Linked DNA regions of Homo sapiens: region 2 is linked to region 1. The links are contacts of gene promoters, found by promoter capture Hi-C in blood cells and fetal thymus (Javierre and others, 2016). All regions are on one chromosome and are shown on one strand. Each heading gives the region's core, a stretch centred on a gene start or on the middle of the fragment in contact. The rest is flanking DNA. Distances are from core to core; before and after follow the strand shown. Region 1 overlaps DTNBP1 (dystrobrevin binding protein 1). Region 2 holds the start of MCUR1 (mitochondrial calcium uniporter regulator 1).

Evidence for each region. Contacts are between HindIII fragments. The CHiCAGO score rates a contact against its expected background, and 5 or more counts as called.
Region 2: a contact is called between the fragment with the promoter of MCUR1 here and a fragment that was not itself captured in region 1, in 1 of 17 cell types (total B cells). The highest score is 5.5, in total B cells.

What each region holds. Positions count from the first base shown.
Region 1 is chr6:15,651,368-15,654,875 of GRCh38, forward strand. DTNBP1 (dystrobrevin binding protein 1) reads right to left here. Exons shown (of 10, transcript NM_032122.5): 2 at 720-773. Among named protein-coding and RNA genes, the nearest start is that of DTNBP1, 9.9 kb to the right of the region's middle. The HindIII fragment of the contact is 1,077 bases long and covers 713-1,789 here.
Region 2 is chr6:13,812,634-13,816,382 of GRCh38, forward strand. It overlaps MCUR1 (mitochondrial calcium uniporter regulator 1), which reads right to left and starts at 1,924. Exons shown (of 9, transcript NM_001031713.4): 1 at 1,382-1,924. The coding sequence starts at 1,796. It overlaps LOC107986571 (a long non-coding RNA gene), which reads left to right and starts at 1,177. Exons shown (of 2, transcript XR_001743986.3): 1 at 1,177-1,456. RefSeq lists silencers at 1,112-1,781, 1,862-2,131 and an enhancer at 2,292-2,391. The HindIII fragment of the contact is 5,544 bases long and covers 1-3,749 here.

The DNA of each region.
Region 1 (3,508 bases), core at 1-2,500:
CCAAAAGAAACACTTATTAAAACTGTTCTTGATTTAGCCAACTGAAAAAAAAAAAAAGGTACATACAAGAATTTTGACATTGTCAATTGTAATATATTTTAAAATCACTAATGACAATTATTAAACTTTTAGAGAAATGTGTTTTATTTCAGAGTTAATGTACTGTATGTAACACACTATCAACCATCATTTTGCCCCAGAGATTCTCTTCAGCATACAATAAATTATTTAATATAATGTTGGATAAGAACAAATATGTAAGATCACAGTTCATTTCTAGGTTGAAAATGAAATCTGGTCACATGCTTTACTTTATTAAAAAAATGGACAAACAGCACAATCCTGGTGTTTTCATACAAAACAGGTAACATAGCTGAAGAGGCTCATTTGCCAAGTAGTATTTCATCATTAATTTGCTTTTCAATAATTCAGGACTTTTACTTTTGCTCTTATACAAATTAAAAATGACTAATTGTGATCAAATAATACTCATTGACTGTCAGAGTAAAACAATTATACTTCACCATTTTTTCAACCATTTCACGATTTTATTAGAAAATTTTCCTGTTACAAAATTTAGAAAGAATCGATAAATTATTTTGTAGTCAGATGCACTCAACAAATCTAAGGTTCATTAATATAACTACACAATTGTGAATACACCAAAAGTTGTATGAAATTTAAGTCACAGTTAAGTTAAAATCTTAGCACAAGCTTACCTGGGTTTGCTTTTCACTTTTGCTTCTCTTGACTTGTCACTTAAAGTCTTCAGCCTATAATTCAATATAAAATATAATATTTTTACAAGTCAAGAGATTATTATTATTTTTTTGAGACAGGGTCTCACTCTGTCGTCCAGGCTGGAGTGCAGTGACATGTACATTACTCACTGCAGCCTCAATCCTGGGCCCAAGTGATCCTCCCACCTCATCCTCCTGAGTAGCTGGGACTATAGTCACCCGCCACCACGCCTGGGTAATTTCTTTTTTTATTTAGTGGAGACGGAGTCTTGCTATGTTGCCCAAGCTGGTCTCATACCCCATGCCTCAAATGATCCTCCTGCCTCAGCCTCCCAAAATGCTGGGATTACAGGCATGAGCCACCCCACCCAGCCCAGAGATTTTTCAACCACAAATTTTCACATGTTAAAATTTTAGGTCAGATAAGCTACTTTTTTTTTTTTAAGCAAGAATTAAGTACCTCAAAAGACAACAAATATTTGAGTGTTTACTATATGTTAGATACTACAAACGGAAAATCTGTAGCAAATTTTTTTTTAAGAGATGGTCTCACTCTGTTGCCCAGGCTAGAGTATAGTGGTGCGATTGTAGCTTACTGTAACCTCAAACTCTTGGGCTCAAGCAATCTTCCCACCTCAGCCTCCTGGGTAACAAGGATGACAGGTATGTGCCACCATGCCCAGCTATTTGTTTCACTTTTATTTTGGTCTCACTATGTTGCCCAGTCTGGTCTCTATCTCCTGGCCTCAAGTGATCTTCCCACCTCAGCCTCCCCATAGAGCTGGGATTATAGGTGTGTGCTACCACGCCAGGCCTTATTTTCATATTCTTACTTACCCCAAGCCCCTTTTTTAGAAACCAAGATTCCTAAATGTGATCAGACCACAAAAACATAATTTATCTGGCATCTTTAGAAAAAGTAATGTTCCACATAGGAGAAATCGATAGGTAACAAAGATATCTAAGCAGCACACTTCATTAAGTAGATGCTACCCAGGCCTTCAAATCTCTTTAAGCATCCACAGTATTTGAAATTTTAGTTGAGAAAAAGCTTTTTAAAATATATTACAAACTTCTTTCATTAAAGAGGATTTTGTATATCTCATTTAACATTTTGTGATGACTCAGGATCAGTATTAAGAATATCATTGACTACATTTTGCAGCAAAACAGTACTCTCCCCTGATACTTCTGAGCTAGAAATGCATCTTCATCTATTAACCTGAAACCAATCTATGGTAGTTTTGTGTTTGTTTGGGCTCTTATGTCTACCTTTCCTAAATTTTCTTTCTCTACCATTGGTCACCTGGATGTCAGCTCTCACTCACTGCTTCTGCCAGCTATTTAATTCTAGCAGTCTCCTCCCCTCTACTTGCTGCTTTTAAATTATTGCACTGGAAAACAGATAAATGGGCTAGAGCTGCATATATAGAATTAACAGACTCTTTTAATGTAAAATATGATGTTCATAAACTGTACAATTTATTTTCACTTCACTGGCCCAGTTTTACTTTATTTTGGCTGTGGACTCTGTTACAGATAACTGAGGTTGCCAATAAGTGAGTGCTACAGTATGCAGTAATATCACATAAAATGAGATATCATGTACACATTCTTCTCAATCACTTCAACAAGTACTCATTTGTAAATAGAAACTGAAAATATAGGCCACAGTACTACTGCTAGCCCCTACAAAGTCTTTGTAAAAACAGAAATAGCTGCTCCTTCCTCCAGACACTTTACTGCCATCAGCCAGAAACTGTCCTAATACACAAGTTGACTCTTGCATGAATGCCTCAACTAATGCATGGTACAGTATACAATCTGCACAACTATGCATGCTGGTTCTGAAACAGGATTCCATCTTTTCTGTCTATAACGTCTGATTAAGCACCATATGGGGACTTCTGATAAACTGCATTTTTTTAAAACCAAATTAGAATGCCAATGTCATACAAAGAGTTTCATATTACTCTATGATCTTTTTCAAAAAATAAAATATTGACAAGATCAATTCCTCTGCAATATTCAAAAGATTCAGCAATCTCTTTAATACAAAAGTAATTAGTATACCTCTCTAGATAAGTCTAGGAAATTGTGTAAAAGTCTAATATAAATTTCTCAGTTTATCCTGGAAACTAGTAAATCTGGTTTAAACCAAGATTAAGCAAAACCTAGGGAAAACAATTTTTATGGCCATGCTCTACCATTTCCACTATAAAGTTTGATCAAAATACTTAGTTGGAACATCTCAGGCAAAATTATCCTAGTTATATACAGCAGTGCCTCATACTCAAAATGATTCTCGCATTATTTTTAGTGATTCAGGAGAATTCTATACAGCTGAGTGTGAAAGGGAATTCCTAAGATCCTCTTTGGACTACTCTAATTATATGATCCAGCAAATCTCTAAGTTGGTATTTCAACTATTTATTTCTAAAACAAACTTTTACTTTCTTAATTGTAATATGCCAAGTTTGGAATTCTCTTCTCTGCCCCCCTACCCCATCTCCTCCCCGCCACCGACAAAAAGAAAAAACCGGTTTGAAATGAAAGGGAAAAAAGGAGTGTTACAGGGAACAGAAAGTAAAATTGTTGGAAGATTCAACAAAAGATTCCCCATGTGGCTCTTTAACAGTCATCTGTTTTAAAAATTGGTCTTTAACCAAATTTAATGTGTGAAACTTATCTGATCTGGATTTGAACAAACCAACTGTAAAAAGTCGTTTCTAAGAACAAAAGAAGTCTGATTATGGACTGCATAATTG
Region 2 (3,749 bases), core at 674-3,173, 1.8 Mb before region 1:
TGTATATAAAGTTTCCTTCACTTTATTGCTCTACTAATCAGTTTTTACCCCAGCCAATGATATTCTTAAATTATAGATATGGTCAACATTTAGTGGGCCTATCTGTTGAAGAAAATATGAAAAATGTGTAGTTAGTGATGGCTACTAATGAATATGTATAGACTGCCCAAAGTGATAATTTTGCCAAGTCTGTTGATTATCAGAAATGATTTTTTTCTTTAATCAACAATATGCTATCTAATAAATTGATTCTATTTACTTTCCTCATCTCCAGGGCAGTGATCTCTCTCACCTCCTTTAAATAGTCATGAGCCCCACAACTACCTTTCAGCCCAGGACAGAGGGGCACACACGACAGTGGTCTATGAGACTATAATACATATTTTTACTCTACCTTTTCTACATTTAGATGCGCAAATACCATTGTGTTCAGATTGCCTCTAGTATTCAGTACGGTAACATGCTGTTCAGGTTTGTAGCCTAGGAGCACTAGCCTCTACCTGATAGTCTAGGTGTGTAGTAGGCTGTAGCATCCAGGTTTGTGTAAGCACACTCTACAATATTCACACAAGGAAGAAGTCGCCTAATGACTCATTTCTCAGTAGGCGACTGTCCTGAAGAGATGCATGACTCTAATTAAATGCTACCTTCTCAATGAAATCGATTCTGATCACCCTATTTAAATTCACAACTGGAGACCCATTCCACTTCCCAAGCCTTATCCTATTTTTCTATACCAGGCATCGAATTACGAATATATAAAAATTATTTGTATATATAAATTATATATACATCAATTATGCATACGTATATCCACACACACATATTTACTGCGTCTGCTCTGCTAGAATTAAGCTCCAGAGGGAAGATTTTGTGGACTGATATATCTCACACATCTAGAAAAGCGCCAGGGACAGGGCAGACGCTAGGACTCCACGAATTAATGATTCCATCAGAATTTGAAATCAAACTGTAAAGCAATCCCTTCATTTCCCAGAGCTTTGCTGCTCAAACATACACACCCCTTCCCCTTGAACGCCCAACAGGCTGGGCGCTGCCAAACAGAACTCCTGGAAGGCGGCGCCCAAAAGCAGACCCTAGGAGTGGGCGGGCACCAACTCCCCGCCCCAGCACGCACCTCCCTCCAACTTTAGCGCCCGGGATTCCCAGGAATTCGTCTCTTCTGGGCTAAGCCCCGCCACCGCGGCCGAGCAGGGCGGGCCCGGACCTTCGACCCACGCTCCGGGCAGATGCCGGTGGCCTTGGAGGACCCGCCCTCCGGCCTGCCGGGCCTTTCCTCGGGGAGGCTGTAGCTGAGATCCCCGCCCCGCCGTCCAACCCCGCGAGACGAGCCCCCTCTCCTCTCCCGCCCGGGCCTCACCTCTCCTGCAGGAAACGAGTGCAGGCGCCGGGCCGTGGTACTGGGGAAGGGCGCCGGCGGCAGCGGCGACGCCCGGTGAGCACCTCCACGCGCTGCTGCGCCCGGCCGGGGGTGCGGCATACCCGAGGCGCGAGCGCTCCCAGTCCCCGAGCTGCCGGCGCGGGGCTGCGGCGGCCAAGCGCGGGGAGGGCACTAGCAGGAGGAGGAGCAGCGGTGAGGCACGTGACACGCCGCCGCGGGCCGCCGGGGCGCGAGGGCGCAGCGCCCCCAGACCGTCGGAGAGCGCAGAGAGGCAGCGGCGTGCTGAGGTTTCGCTGCCGCCCGGTCTTCCGCTGAGGCCCACGGGCAAGAAGAGAAGCCGCTGGCGGCCGGGCAGGCGCTGGGTCCTCTGGCCGCCGACCGAGCCGCAGTCCATCCCCGAGCAGTTCACTGGCCCGGGCGCGCGCTCATGCCTCTCGCTTTTGGCGCCGGCCACGCGCGGTCCAGGCCCAGAGTCCGACAGCGGGAGCGAGCGTGGGCCACAGCGCAGGACCGCCCTTTCCTGCCGGGCGCGCGGGCGGGGCTCGGGACGCGCGCCGGGGGTGGGGTGGGGCGGGGCGGCAGGAGCCCGCCGTGGCGCTCCGAGATGCGGGGACCGTGCGAGCCCCCACCCCATTCGCTAGGCGACGGCGGCGACCGGGAGGAGCCTGCGGGCACTCCGGAACTGGAAGGAGCTTGTTGCTGTCACGATTTGCATTTTCACTGCACTGCTGTCCTTAAAAAGGAATTACCCCGGTGCCCTTCAGAGTCCTGTGAAAAGTCTCAGACCGACAGGCTGCCCTAGATTTCACTGATTATCCTAAGTCCCCAAACATGTGGTTCTGGGGAGCATTTTAAGGAATTATTAGCAGGGCCCAGGGAAAGGCCCTCACATAATACATTCAAAACTAAATTTTCAGAGTTTTTGTTTCCAGATTAGAGCACCAAAAACATGGGAAGGTAGCAATCTGGGAACTTAAAACGTGGGGCATGAATGTTAAAATGAGACCTGTCGGGTATATTTGAAACTGGTAATGTTTAGTTTCGTGGACTTTTTGAAGGCCTGTTACACCATTCACAGATAACTGGTCCCTTATGTGAATTTGGAAGATGTTAGTTGAATAAATAAATGAAATGCATAAGGCACCAAGCTAGGAGATTTTATTAAAAATAAAAAACCGCAAAACAAATTGTTCTTATCCTCCAGAAGCTGTTTTCCTATACAGCCATATGTGTACACATACGTGATGGAAGAATGTGTTATGAGCCATGAGAGATGTACAAAGTGCTGGGAAGAGAGGAGCGTGCATATGGATGTGCAAGATAAGTGTCTATCAAAATTTGAAGAACTGAAAAACAGGATTCAAGTCATAGGTTGGTGCAAAAGTAGTTGCGGCTTTTGCCATTGCAAGTAATGGCAAAAACCGCAATTACTTTTGCACCAACCTAAGACACTTTTGTAAAAGGAGTATACATTTATAAAATTGGTAGAAAAAGCAGTTTAGCAATGAGTATCAACAAAAATTTGTAAACTTTTCTCAAGTCACCTAACTAAAAATGGGGATAATGGGAATAATCCAAAATATTAAATATCTACTAGGTTTGACTATACAAACTTGTCATTTTTATGGGTCAAAATGCTTAATATTGGTAATTTCACATATGCACAAAAGATAGTCATTGTATCATAATTTGTGATTGTGAAAAAATGGGAAAATAGTGCACAACATTAGAGGAACGATTAAACTGTGGCACAAACTTTAATGTTAGTCCTTTGTAATTTTTAAAAATTGAGGTATAATTTGCATACAGTAAATTCCACAGACTTAGGTGACATTTAGCAGTTGATAAATGTCATTTAGCAACTTGATGACATTTAGCAGTTGTATATACCACCCAGTCAAGATCTAGAACATTTTCATTGCTCCAGAAAGTTATTTTGTGCCAGTTTTCCAGACAATCCACCACCACCCCAAGGCAACTATTTTCTCTTTTTTTTTTTGAGACGGAGTCTTGCTCTGTCACCCAGGCTGGAGTGCAGTGGTGCAGTCTCAGCTCACTGTGTCCTCTGCCTCCCGGGTTCAAGCAATTCTCCTGCCTCAGCCTCCTGAGTAGCTGGGATTACAGGTGTCTGCCACCACGCCTGGCTAATTTTTGTATTTTTAGTAGAGACGGGGTTTCACCATATTGGCCAAGCTGGTCTCGAACTCCTCACCTTGTGATCTGCCCGCCTCGGCCTCCCAACGTGCTAGGATTACAGGCGTGAGCCACCGCGCCCGGCCAACTATTTTCAAATTTCAATGACCATAGATTAGTTTTGTCTTTTTTTGAACTTCATGTAAATGGAGAC